2 separate regions of the Homo sapiens genome follow, and region 2 is linked to region 1. The links are contacts of gene promoters, found by promoter capture Hi-C in blood cells and fetal thymus (Javierre and others, 2016). All regions are on one chromosome and are shown on one strand. The core of a region is centred on a gene start or on the middle of the fragment in contact, and the rest is flanking DNA. Distances in the headings are between cores, read along the strand shown. Region 1 holds the start of SYNE1 (spectrin repeat containing nuclear envelope protein 1). Region 2 overlaps RGS17 (regulator of G protein signaling 17).

Evidence for each region. Contacts are between HindIII fragments. The CHiCAGO score rates a contact against its expected background, and 5 or more counts as called.
Region 2: a contact is called between a fragment that was not itself captured here and the fragment with the promoter of SYNE1 in region 1, in 1 of 17 cell types (neutrophils). The highest score is 5.5, in neutrophils.

Annotation. Positions count from the first base shown.
Region 1 is chr6:152,633,903-152,640,547 of GRCh38, reverse strand. It overlaps SYNE1 (spectrin repeat containing nuclear envelope protein 1), which reads left to right and starts at 3,186. Exons shown (of 146, transcript NM_182961.4): 1 at 3,186-3,359; 2 at 3,743-3,910. RefSeq lists an enhancer at 5,559-5,688. The HindIII fragment of the contact is 16,108 bases long and covers 1-6,645 here.
Region 2 is chr6:153,013,027-153,020,262 of GRCh38, reverse strand. The region is part of intron 4 of RGS17 (regulator of G protein signaling 17); the gene reads left to right. Among named protein-coding and RNA genes, the nearest start is that of MTRF1L, 14 kb to the right of the region's middle. RefSeq lists a silencer at 4,307-4,489. The HindIII fragment of the contact is 9,038 bases long and covers 557-7,236 here.

The DNA.
Region 1 (6,645 bases), core at 1,937-4,436:
CCTGTAAGTTTTATCTATTAAATATCTCTCAAATCTGTCTACATTTTCCCACCACCATCACTCTAATAATAAATACCACAGTCTTTTCTAAAGGATTACAGCACCACCTTCCTAACTGGTCCATGTTTATTGATTCTGGCTCCACTTCTAATCTGTTTTTTCACATTTTAGCCAAAGAGAACATTTTAAAACATAAATCTAATCATGTTGCACTGAGAACACTTTAATGGCTTCTTGTAAAGGGCCATCCCTTTGGTTCAGTTTTTAAGACTGGCATAGTCTGCCCTTGGCTCTGTTTCCAGCTGTACTGGGCCCACCATTCCCTAAACCTCCTGGCCCCTCCCTTGCTTTTTCTTCTGCAACCTCATCAGTCTTCCTCAGTTCCTGCAATGCACCATGTGCTTTTCTTCCATAGAGCCTCTGCATATGCTGTTCCTTCTGTCTGGAGCGCTCTCCCAATTTCCCACCTGCTCACGTTCACCTAGTTCCTGCACCTCACTGTTCAGATGTCACTCCCTTAGCAAAGCCTTTCTAATCCCTGAAATAAATTAATTCCCCTCCTTTTTTTTTTTTCTGAGTCTTGCTCTGTCACCCAGGCTGGAGTGCAGTGGCACGATCTCAGCTCACTGCAACCTTCGCTTTCCAGGTTCAAGCAATTATCCTGCCTCAGCCTCCCGAGTAGCTCAGATTATAGGCGCCTACAACCACGCTGGCTATTTTTTTTTTTTTTTGACAGAGTCTCACTCTGTCGCCAGGCTGGAGTGCAGTGGTGCAATCTTGGCTCACTGCAACCTCCGCCTCCCAGCTTCAAGTGTTTCTCCTGCCTCAGCCTCCTGAGTAGCTGGGCCTACAGGCATGCGCCACCATGCCCAACTAATTTTTTATATTTTTAGTAGAGATGGGGTTTCACCATGTTGGTGAAGCTGGTCTTGATCTCTTGACCTTGTGATCTGCCTGCCTCGGCCTTCCAAAGTGCTGGGATTACATGCATGAGCCACCGTGCCTGGCCAATTTTTGTATTTTTAGTAGAGATGGGGTTTCACCATGTTGGCCAGGCTGGTCTCGAACTCCTGTCCTCAAGTGATCTGTCTGCCTTGGCCTCCCAAAATGCTGGGATTACAGGTGTGAGCCACCATGCCTGGCCAACTCCCGTTCTTGAAAGCTCTCATAGCAACATTTGCCTTTGCTTGGAGAATGGGGTTTTATAAGTATTTGTGTGGTTCTCTGATGAATGTCTGGCTCTTCCCCCATCATACTGTAAGCTCCATGAAGGCAAGAGCCCGGTCAGAGTTTGCTTACCACGGTAGCCCCAGCACTTAGGACAATATTTGTTATGTGGTAAGTGTTCAAGCAATAGCTGTTGAGTAAATGGAGCTACAACACCCTTCCCTGGGGTGTGTGAAACTGACAAGCCCTTTGCAAAACTCTAAAATGTGCTTAGTCCTTCTACAGAGGATAAAGTTTAGCTGAGAATGGGATTTCAGCTGTATAGGGAATCAATGCCAGCAAGACAGCTCTATGCTTCTGTCTGTCTCAGCCTGTGAGAACAGAGATTAGGCCTAGTAGAGGAGTTTTAGTTGGTGGAAGCAATGTTTCAGGCTTGTGTTTTAAGTGGCTCACTTCTCAAGTAAGTAAACCCAAGAAAGTAGTTGCTTAACGTGTAGAATAGCAAGTTGGTGGCCAGGTGCAGTGGCTCACACCTGTAATCCCAGCACTTTGGGAGGCCGAGCTGGATGGGTCACCTGAGGTCGGAAGTTTGAGACCAGCCTGACCAACATGAAGGAACCCTGTCTCTACTAAAAATACAAAATTAGCCAGGTGTGGTGACGCATCCCTGTAATCTCAGCTACTCAGGAGGCTGAGGCAGGATAATTGCTTGAACCTGGGAGGCGGAGGTTGCAGTGAGCCGAGATTGCACCATTGCACCCCAGCCTGGGGAACAAGAGCGAAACTCCATCTCAAACAAACAAACAAACAAAAAGAATGGCAAAGTTGGCACAATAACTTTCTACCCATCTTCAAAAGCCGGCAGGGTGGATTGATTCTATGAAGGTAGGGATTGAGAGGGTGAGCTGAGCCATTCTGATCTGTTTCTTCTGAGTGGCAAGCCTGGAAATCTGGACCCCATTTTGTGGCCACTGGGCACAGAGGGCTGACCTGGAATAATTATGCTCTGGTGGTTGTCTCCACAAGGGGCTCTGGGGGTGCCCCAGGATTGTTGCCCTCAGGCAGAGGCAGGGCATACATTGAGAGTGATCCCAAACACTCCTCCTCCAGGCCCAACTTTTGGAGGTAGCAAGTTCTGCAAATAGAGATCCATTGTTTGGTTTCTCTCTCTAAAAAAAAACAAAAGTCAGCACAAAGAAGAGGAACACATCAGATTGGTTTACCAGATTTGTTTCAGATGTTATTATTTTGACACGATCCAGAAGAAGGAGAATTTGAAGAAAATGGAAAGCTAGGCAGTGGGAATGTTGGCAGCAGGTAAGGGAAAGGCAGGCAGCAAAGAGAAACTTCATCTACTTTATAAACTGCTCCTTCCTTTCAGCAAATTTAGAGGATAAATGACTGTTTTGTTCAGATTGGAGATTCAAGGGGGGGATTATTACTTTTAAGATTATTGCAACATGGCTTCGATTATTTTAGCTGCAATCATCCTGTTGGACTTGGACTTCACTGTTGGTGAAGAGAGACTGTGTTTGACTTTGCCTGGATACCATAAAACCACAACAAAATAAATTCTCCTGAATGCTACCAGGCAACACCAAGATCTCTTACACCACGAGAAGGACTTGTGGCCAAAGATACAAATGGCTCCGCAATGTACAGGGTGCATACAGTGCACCTGAAGAACCTAAAAGTGGTTTTTAGAATCATCATAATAAACAGTCAAGAATTAAAGATGTCAAGCGCTTTCTCAAGAAGTCTAAACTTTATACATAACATTAAAAAAGATCTATAAAGCCTGACCAGTCTCCCTCAAATTAAGTTATTTGCTACTGACTTGGCAGCCAAAACGATTTAGGATCTTTCGGAAGTTGATGAAAAAGGAGCCAGCGGGTTTTGCTCTTTGCTCTGCATCACGCCCTTCCTGGGACCATCAGGGAACCTCCCAGCCTTTCAGGATAGGTTCCGCTCAGAAAGGTCACCCGGGCAGTGGAAACCGTGGGCAAAAGTTAGCTGGCAGGACAGCGCAGCTCCTCCAGGCAGCGGAGGCAGCGCGTCCCGGCTCTCAGGGACATTTCCTTCCCACCTCGACCCCCGGGAGGTGGTCCCGGTATAAAGGCTCGCTGAGCGGGTGGGTCACAGCACAGCTTTGCAGCTGCGGAGAAACGCCCAAGGCCGTGCATCTCCAGGAGGTAGGGAAGCCTGCGAGCCTCCGGGTCCCCGCCCCCAGCTCTTCCAGGCACCGGCGCATCCCGGAGCCGGGCGCGGGGCGCGGGGCACGGAGCCGGGGAGGGGGTGTGGCGGGCCAGGGCGGTGCAGGGACCCTGCCCAGAGGCTGAACCGGCCTGGGCGACCTTCCTTCCCGACAGGAGCAGTAGATGCGTGGGGGAGGGCGAAGGGGGAGGCCTCACCCCCCAGCGAGCAGCCGGGAGGAGGAACCGGTCGCGGAGGGCGGGGAGCGCGGCTGAGCAGCCCGGCGCGGGAGTGAGTGTGGGCGAGCCAGCCAGGGTGAGCGCGGGCGCCGGGCCGCGGCCGCCGGCCGCAGCGGGCTGAGATTGTTGTCCTCTGTCACCAGGGCGGCTGGGCTCCCGCAGTCCTGCAGACCGCGCCCGATCCCGGCGACAGGGCGGGCGGACAGCCGCGCATCCCCGGGGTCCCGCCGAGCCTGGGCGCAGAGAGCCGGGAGGAAGCGTTCGCTCGCTTCGCCTTGCTGCTGGGAAACTGAACGAGGCCGAGAGAGAAGGTAAAAGGAAAGACAGAGACTGGGAGACAGGGAGAGACAGAGACAGGGAGAGGAGAGAGAGGTGCAAGACGAACACATTGCAGACAAATTGTCAGCAAGTTTGTGCCTGCACGCTGGGGCTCTGCGTGCTTGATGGGAGGGGGTGGTGGCAGTGATGTGTGTACGTGTGCGATACTCATAGATAAGGAGACTAGGAGGTTGGGGAGCCTCTTTGCATCTCGTACGTAGATGTCCCTATTAATATCCCCCTCTCTGAGTTGTCATTTCCGCTTGTGGCACATCTCCTGGGCTCCAATGGTGCAGAAGCAAAAGGCAGCCAGCCTCTTATTGTGATGGTCGGTACTGTTGCTACTATCAGATGGGAGAGGTAGGGCGTTGAACAGATTCTAGGAGCCTCCCTTCCTCCACCCCCTGACTATTTTAGGAAGGGCTGGGGGAGGGAAATGGCTTGAAGGCTGCGCGGAGGCCCTGGCGCGTCAGACTCCAGCGGCGCTGTCATGGTGCAGTTGCTTCCCGGCAGAGCCTGCACTAGAGGGCAAGAGAACTTTCGTCTCCTCTTTATAAAGATACGTTTCACATAGAGAGATCTTGCATTGCTGGCGGAGGAGTTCTGGGAAATGGTGGTGCACAGGCGGCCAGGTGCATCCCAACGGGCAGGCATCCGTGCAAAACGAAGCAGCCATCAGCCGCACAGGAAGAAGCCCCTTGGGAAGGCAGGCTGGGTGTGCTGACTGGGATCCCAGACTTTGGATGCTGGAAGTTCTGCCCCCTTCCGTAAATAGAGTCAGGTCCAGCCCAGAGGGAAATATCAGCAATGAAGCCTTAGCATCCCACAATGTTCATTTCTGAGCTTTTCGTTTTGGGGTGGAAAACTTGTATCTGAAATGTTCCTGTGAATGTTAAGAAAGTTAAAAATGAATTATTTTTCTCTTCTTTAATGCCCATCCATTTTTTGTCTTCATCTGAGAATGACTTTCCTAAAGACAACATTCGTATACAGAAGCCAGACCTATGCAAGAGAAAGTATAATAATTTTCAATGAGGCAAAGGTCATTAATATGACCTACATCTTCATAAAATGCGAATTTAATCACGAGTCATGACGATTGTTCTTTGAGAGGCTTTTTATTCCCCATGGTGAAAAAAGATTTGTAGTATGGCTAAAAAGTTCCTGATATCACCGGAACAGTGTGACAAAATACATATCTATTTTTTCTTTTCTGTTCATTACTTTGTGGCAGATTTAGAACAAAATGTGAGAGATCTATACTAACTTAATATGTTTCATGCTGAAGATTAAGAAACAGCTTCAGACTGACCCAGATAACAATATTTGCTAGGCTTTGGAAATATTTGCCTAGCTCTTATTTTATAGTCTCACTTTCATCTTTCTGAACTAATGATTTTCACAAACTGGTTTTCTTCTGTCCTCATTGACCTCATTTAAGAACTCTTTTTTACTTGAGTCCTTCCTGCCAGGGAGAGGAGATTGGAAAAAGCTAGTTTGCCATTTAAAAATGTTCAAGAATTGTTTGGTGCTGCACTGGGCCTACTTTCTGATAACTATGCTGCACACACAGCATCTTGGAAATGAAAGGAGGTGTGACTGTCACAGGATGTAGGAAGCCCATAACTGGGCAAGGTTGGTGGCATTTTCACAACTCCAGCTCTAGCTACTGCAGCCACACCCTGTGGTCTGAATGTGACAGGCATGCAGGGCCCAAACGCCTCTGCGAGGTCCTCTGTGTGTCTCCTCTTAAATGTGTACTTCTTTGTGGTCTAATCTAACGAGAACTAATGTTTGGCAAGGTGTGCAATATACTGTAGCAAGGGAAAAAAAGAAGGTTGCAGATGTCTTTGGTTGTAATTTATACTTTAGGCTTACAATAAACAAAATTTAATTATGACACTGAACATCTTTCATGCTGATTTCTGCTATACACTTTGTCTTTTGCTTACTTGTTCATGTTCTTCTATGGAAAAGATCATTTCTTATTGTTACTCTGTATAATTCATACTAGTGAATAAGAAACAGCATTGTTCCCTGATAACCTGCACACATTTATTAGTAATATACTTACATTAATTCAAAGATATCCCTGTTCTTCTCTTTTAGCCATCTTAGTATTCATTAATTAGTACCATTATTAATGGGTGAATAGAGAAAAAAATAATTAAATTTAAAATTAAACAGTATGTGAACTCTCTTCAGCAAAAGACTTGAATAGAAGGGAAACTGAAATTTATTCATGACTAAAAATTTTATTCAATAGTGGGTTTCAATATTAGTGCTATTCTTATACATGTTTAGACATTTAATTAATATCTGTACTTCCTGCTGTTGTGAATCTGTTTATGTGTTTATGTTCTCAGTTCATTTTCTTTTTGGTTAGAAATGAGCCACGTTGTCTCTGGTCATTGCAGGGTTTGAAATTTTCTGCAGTAGTTTCCTAATACCTAGAAATTCAGTTGCATTGCTTATATATATTCTTGTGGCTCAGTAGTATTTCTTCAGTGCTTTTCTTAGTGTATTCCTTTTTAGTCACACAAACAAGAAACTGCTTTAAGAGCCAATGTCCATTCTGCCAAGAGACAGAAAAAATTGAGTTGTGCTATTTCACAACTGTGTTTTTTCACAGGGAGTGATGTTAAGAAGAGTATGCCTTTCAACTGGGAGCATCCCAAATAGCAGGTAGTCCAAATTCCTAAGAAGAGTATGCCTTTCAACTGGGAGC
Region 2 (7,236 bases), core at 3,826-6,325, 380 kb before region 1:
AGAATCACTTGAACCTGGGAGGCGGAGGTTGCAGTGAGCCAAGATCGTGCCACTGCACTCCAGCCTGGGCAAAAGTGCGAGACTCTGTCTCAAAAAAAAAAAAAAAAAAAAAAAAAAAAAAAAATATATATATATATATATATATATATATTTTTTTTTTTTAAGATATTTGCAATTAGGAGGTGACATAACTTCTGTTCTTGGTATAGTGTACATTTTATGAAGGAAAAGGCCAAACTAAAAAAAAAACTAGAAATTTACACATTTGTTTTAAAAAGTAAATTTTTTAAAAGTGATGTCTTCAAGGGAAAACAAATGAAGATAATAAAGAGGCCTTTAAGCCTAATAGTAGACTTGCTCCACATTGCAGATTTTGGTGGCAGCTTATATTTATTATTGAAAAGATGTGTTAGGCCAATCTTGCATTGCTATAAAGAAATACCTGAAACTGGGTAATTTATAAAGAAAAGTGGTTTAATTGGCTCACAGTTCTGCAGGCTTCACAGGAAGCAAGGTGCTGGCATCAGCTCAGCTTCTAGGGAGGCCTCAGGAAGCTTATAATCATGGCATAAGATGAAGGGAGATCAAGTACATCACATGGGCAAAGCAGGAGCAAGGGGTGGGGAGGTGCCACTCACTTTTAAATAACCAGATCTCGCAAGAATTCACTCACTATATCAAGGACAGAACCAAGAAGATGGTGCTAAAGCATTCATGAGAAATCTGCCCCCATGAACCAGTCATCTCCCACCAGACCCCATCTCCAACACTGGGGATTACATTTCAACCTGTGATTAGGGTGGGAACAAACATCCAAACGATATCAAAAGACAAACCTAGCAAAATAAATAACTTGAATAAAAAATCTACTTAGAGGCTCTTATCAACTGTAAACAGCATTAAGCTACTGAACAAAGAAATAACTATAAATCCTTCAATAAATATAAGATATGTATCTGAATTGAAGAAAACCATGGTCCAGTTAGGTAGAAATCTGCCTAGTGATGGCGTTGTCGTTACCAGGACTATAAACTGCATCTGTCACTTACCATCTGTGAGCCACTTAGCAGCTCGCTTTAGTGCGCTGGAACCTCCACGTCCTAGTGTTATGAATGAAGGCATGGGGAAAGCCCAAAAACCCGTGATATCTGTGATGTTCAAGCTCTGGGGAATGGTAATTGTAATCGTAGTAGGAGTTTGCTTTTTCTGATTTTTCTAACTTCCCAGTTACCATCTGAGAGAAAAAAGTAATAGACCTATTTGAACACCAGAATTATCTACAAAATAATGCTTATGTGATAGACATGCAGATTCTGTGTGTCCATGTAGATATGTCTTTAAGTGAAATTATGTGAATTTAGCACATTCAATGATTTAAGTCAGTTTTTCTAAACAGAACTCACTTGACTGTATTTTCCTAAATGTATTTTTATGCACGCATATTATCATTCAAAAAATATTGACTATTTCCTATGAGCCAAGCACTGGACTAGATGTTGGGGATATGATGATAAACAAGAGACACTGGCCGATCCCTTAATGGAGCTTACATTTTAGGAAGACAGACAAATCTTGTTGAAATAAGTAACTAAAAATTGTGATGGGCTGGAGATTGAATTAGATGGAATAGAAGTAGTCAGGTAAGGTCATTCTGAGAAGGTAAAATTCAAATTGATGCAAAAGCCAAACACATTGGGTTTGATCAAGATGATGTCATAATTATGATCAATTATTATTAATTACTTTACATTGGCTTCATTATTGGCACAGTGATCTTGCCTATATTATTACAGTCTGAGTCTCACAACAATCTTTCAGCCACGAGGACCGATGGTACCACTTTACAGCAAAAGAAACTGATACTCAAAGAGGTGAAATGAATGTTTGAGGAAATTATAAATATATCTGGTAGAGATAGAATTCAAGCCCAAGATCTTCTGATTCCAAATGTGGTGCTTTTCCAAATATACCATGCTGATTAATTCTTCCATTGCCTAATATTTTCTTCCTGATGTTACCTTAGATTTCTATAAACCCAACCGTAGAACTTCACACATGATGAGAAATAGCAACCTTAACCACAGGCCTGAACCCTCCCCTAGACCAGCAGGATATACTTTCCTATCATCCAGACACCACCAAGAGTATTACATTACAGTTTACCCTACCAATAATCTTTGTTCTAAGAGAGAAATTCAAACAACTGGTCTTATTTGCAATGTGCCATTATTTTCAGGAGAAATAACAAGCACAAAATAAAATGTGACTAAATGTACACAAAGTAAAAATGAAAATTGATAGGAGGATCATGTATTCTTTAGATTTATAAAATTTAACATAGGAATACCAAATTTAGTTCAAATTAAAAGCAGAAAAGAAAATTTCCAGTGGCAGATGTTACCATTGGTAAAATTTGATATGGACTTATAAAGGGAAAAAATTAATCAGAATTTTACTTGGAAAGGAATTCTAAATAAAGCAACTTCAGTAACAGTAAAAATAAGAGAGAAAAATGGAGAAAACACTTGGATGTGATACGTGAAAAACATTGTTCAGGGAATTAAATAACATAAAGAAAGGTTCTCTACAGAGAAAAAGACTTTCAGTAAAAATTCAATATTCTCGTATAATTATGCCAAAAATGTCCATAGGATCAAATTTTCCCTTGCATCTTGATGACTGGAATAAAAAGGCAGGGTGAAAAGTTGGTGTACCCCCTTTCAGCAATGCTAACCCACCTTCATGTCCTCCTTCAATGAATAGGAAATCTAGTAAGATTAACCAGGGTATATGACTCCGTTTAGCCCAGATTTTCCCAAGCCACACTAACAAGATTTCTCTGTCTTCATTCTCCTCGCTTTACCTCCATACTTTTGTTGACCACTTCGCTCTCATGACTTTTTGCTTGCAAGTCCCTTGCTTTTCTGCCTCCCTGTCTCCTGCTCCCTGTGGGAATGAATGCTTCCAAGTTCACCGAGACCTATTGCAAAGTCACTTGTGTCTTTTTAAAACTTCAGTTGCTATGTCTCAACATTGCCGGACTTTTCAGCACTGCTAAAACTGCCAGTTAAATGCGGTCAAACCTATCATGCTGTCTTGTGCCCTGTCTCACAAGGGTAGTGCTTTTGTGCTATAAATTCTGTTATTGCTGGAATGCACTCTTTTCTCCACACCACCTTGGTATGGGTCTTTGTGGCCTGAGATAAGAGGAGACATGCATTGCCCGAGGATAGCTCTTATCTTGTGCTACTCAACTTTCTCTTCCCTTAGGATGAGTTCTTTACAGGAAATTCCTCAGTCCCTCATGCAATGGAGCCCAGATAAGATGGCTTTAGAAGCCATCCAGACACACCTGAATCCTAGGGTGACTGTGGCCCAGGCCCAACTGGGATCCACCACCAATACCTTGTATTATAGATGATCCACATTCTGAAGCACAAAGATGGCACAAGATGAAACAATAGATTGTTATCCCCATGGGGTTTATCCTTATTATTTGACCTCGCTACACTTCTTTTGACTGATCGACAGCCTTTTCAGACAAACAACCTGATATTAAGGTAAATATTTTATTCTTTAAATAGAAATAACAAATGCATTTTTGTTATAGATTACTAAATATTGAACTGTATGACTTTACAATATTTCACTACTGTTTTTAGCTTGCAAAAAAATTAAAAATTAAACAATGAGGACATAAGCCATTTAATAGTTTATTTTATTTGTCTTAAGATAATAATGATTCCTTCTACTGAGAAGAAACTTTTACACTATATTTAATGATACTACTTTTTAAGAAGTAAATGACCCCCCCTTTTTTAATCTCTAATGTAAGGTTTCCTGCTCTATTGAAACAAAAAGTTTTCTCAAGTTTGAAAGAAAACAGAGGAGTGTGTTTGGTAAGAATTTACCTTACCATAACATGATGTTCCAGAATAAGATAAATCAGTTTATCTCAGTTTAAACTCCAGTGTCAGCATTTCCCTCTGGCATATAAATGCAAAAATACATTTTCAGGTAAAATAAAAACGTTGGGGAAAAATATTCTGTGCTTTTTAAAATTACTTTGTACTTGATAGTGACCTCATGTGGTAATAACAGAAAATAAAAACTGAACAATTCATTTCCAGAACATTTTTATTTTTAAAGAATTCCCAATAAAGACAAATGTGTAGTTCAGCCAAGTAATGTTTTTTAGGCTTGCTTCAGCAATACTGCAGGTTCAGTTACAGACAACCACAATAAAGCAAATACCACAAAACAAGTCGCACAAATATTTTGGCTTCCCAATGCACATAAAAGATATGCTTGGCTGGGCGCGGTGGCTCACACCTGTAATCCCAGCACTTTGGGAGGCCGAGGCAGGCAGATCACGAGGTCAGGAGATTGAGAACATCCTGGCTAACACGGAGAAACCCCGTCTCTACTAAAAATACAAAAAATTAGCCGGGCGTGGTGGCGGGCGCCTGTAGTCCCCGCTACTCAGGAGGCTGAGGCAGGACAATGGCGTGAACCCGGGAGGCGGAGCTTGCAGTGAGCCGAGATCGCGCCACTGCACTCCAGCCTGGGCGACAGAGCGAGACTAAAAAAAAAAAACAAAAAAAAGATATACTATACTGTAGTCATAGTATAAACAATACTTGGCAATAGCATAGCAACAGCATTATGTCTTAAAAATGTGGATACCTTAATTTTAAAATACCTTATTGATAAAAACCGCTAACAGTCATCTGAGCTTTTAGAAAGTCATAATCTTTTTGCTGGTGGAGAGAGGGTCTTGCTTCGACATTGATGGCTGCTGACTCATCAGGCTGGTATTGCTGAAGGTTGGGGTGGCTGTGGCAATTTATTCAAATAAGAAAACAATGAAGTTTGCCACATCGATTGACTTCCTTTCATAAAAGATTTCTCTATAGCATGTAATGCTGTTTGGTAGCATTTTACCCACAGTAGAGCTTCTTTCAAAATAGGAGTCAATCCTCTCAAACCCTGCTGCTGCTTTATCAACTAAGTTTATGTAATCTAAATCCTTTGTTGTCATTTCAACAATGTTCACAGCATCTTCACCAGGAATAGATTCCATCTCAAGAAACCACTTTCTTTGCTCATCTATAAGAAGCAAGCCCCTATTCTTTAGAGTTTTATTATGAAATCGGAGCAATCAGTCCTATCCTCAGGCTCCACTTCTAATTCTAGTTCTATTACCATTTCCACCACATCTGCAGTTAGTTCCTCCACTGAAGTCTTGAACTCCTCAAAATCATCCAGGAGGGTTGGAATCAACTTTTTCTAAATTCCTGTTAATGTTGATATTTTGACCTCCTTCGATGAATCACAAATGTTCTTAATGACTAGAATGGTGAATTCTTTCCAGAAGGTTTTTCATTTGCTTTGCCTAGATCTATCAGAGGAATCACTATGGCGGCGATAGCTTTATGAAATGGGTTTCTTTTTTTTTTTTTTTTGAGACGGAGTCTCACTCTGTAGCCCAGTCTGGAGTGCAGCAACGCGATCAAGACTCACTGCAAGCTCTGCCTCCCAGGTTCACGCCATTCTCCTGCCTCAGCCTCCCAAGTAGCTGGGACTACAGGCACCCACCACCACACCTGGCTAATTTTTCGTATTTTTAGTAGAGACGGGTTTTCACCGTGTTAGCCAGGATGGTCTCGATCTCCTAACCTCGTGATCCACCCACTTCAGCCTCCCAAAGTGCTGGGATTACAGGCGTGAGCCACCGCGCCTGGCCTCTGAAATGTATTTCTTAAATAATACTTGTGAGTTGAAATTACTTCTTGATCCATGGGCTGCAGAATGGATGCTGTGTTAGCAGGCATGAAAACAATACTAATTTCCTCGTGCATCTTCATCAAAGCTCTCGGATGACCAGGAGCATTGTCAATGAGCAGTAGAACTTTAAAAGGAATCTTTTTTTTCTTTGAGCAGTAGGGCTCGACAGTGGGCTTAAAACACCCAGTAAGACATGCTATAAACAGATGTGCTGTCATCTAGGCTTTGTTGTTCCATTTATAGTTCACAGGCAGAGTAGATTTAGCATAATTCTTAAGGGCTCTAGGATTTACAGAATGGTAAATAAGCATTCGTATCTGTTTAAAGTTACCAGTTAGTATTAGCCCTTAACAGCAGAGTCAGCCTGTCCTTGAATCTTTGAAATCAGGCATTGACTTCTCTCTGGCTCTGAAAGTCCTAGATAGCATCTTCTTCCAATATAAGGCTGTTTTGTCTATACTGAAAACCTGCTGTTTAGTGTAGCCACCTCCATCAATTATCTTAGCTAGATCTTCTGAATAAATTACTGCAGTTTCTACATCAGCCATTTGCTGCTTCACCTTGAACTTTTATGTTATGGAGATAACTTCTTTCCCTACACCTCATGAACCAACATCTGTGAGCTTCAAACTTTTCTTACACAGCTTCCTTACCTCTCTCAGTCTCCACAGAATTGAAGAGAGTTAGGACCTTGCTCTGGATTAGGGTTTGGCTTAAGGGAATGTTGTGGCTTGTTTGATCTTCTATCCAGACCACTCAGACTTTTTACATTTCAGCAACAGGTTGTTTTGCTTTCTTATTCACATGTTCACTGGAGTAACACTTTTAATTTCCTTTGAGAACATTTCCTTTGCCTACACAACTTGGCTAACTTTCAAAAGAGGCCCAGCTTTTGACCAGTCTCAGCTTTCGACATGCCTTCCTCATTAAGTTTAACTAACCATTTCTTAGCTTTTTATTTAATGTGACAGATGTGTGAATCTTCCTTTCACTTAAACACTTAGAGGCCACTGGCGGGTTATTAACTGGCCTAATTTCAATATTGTTTTCTCTGTGGGAAATAGGGAGGCCTGAGGAGAGGGACAAAGATATGGGAATAGCAGGTCAGTGGAACAGTCAGTATACACACTATAGTCATCAATTAAGAATTAATTAAGTCTTATATGGGCATGGTTCATGGCCTCCTAAAACAATTGCAAGAGTAACATCGAAGGTCACTGATCACAGATCACCTTAAAATATATAATAATGATGAAAATTGTGAAATATTATGGGAACTACCAAAATGTGACACAGAGACACAGAGTGAGCACACGCTATTGGAAAAATGGTGCCAGTCGACTTCCTTGACACAGGATCGCCACAAGCCTTCAATTTGTAACAAACGCAGTATCTGCGAAAAACTAAATAAAGGGAAGTGCAGTAAAATGAGGTGTCCCTGTATGAGTT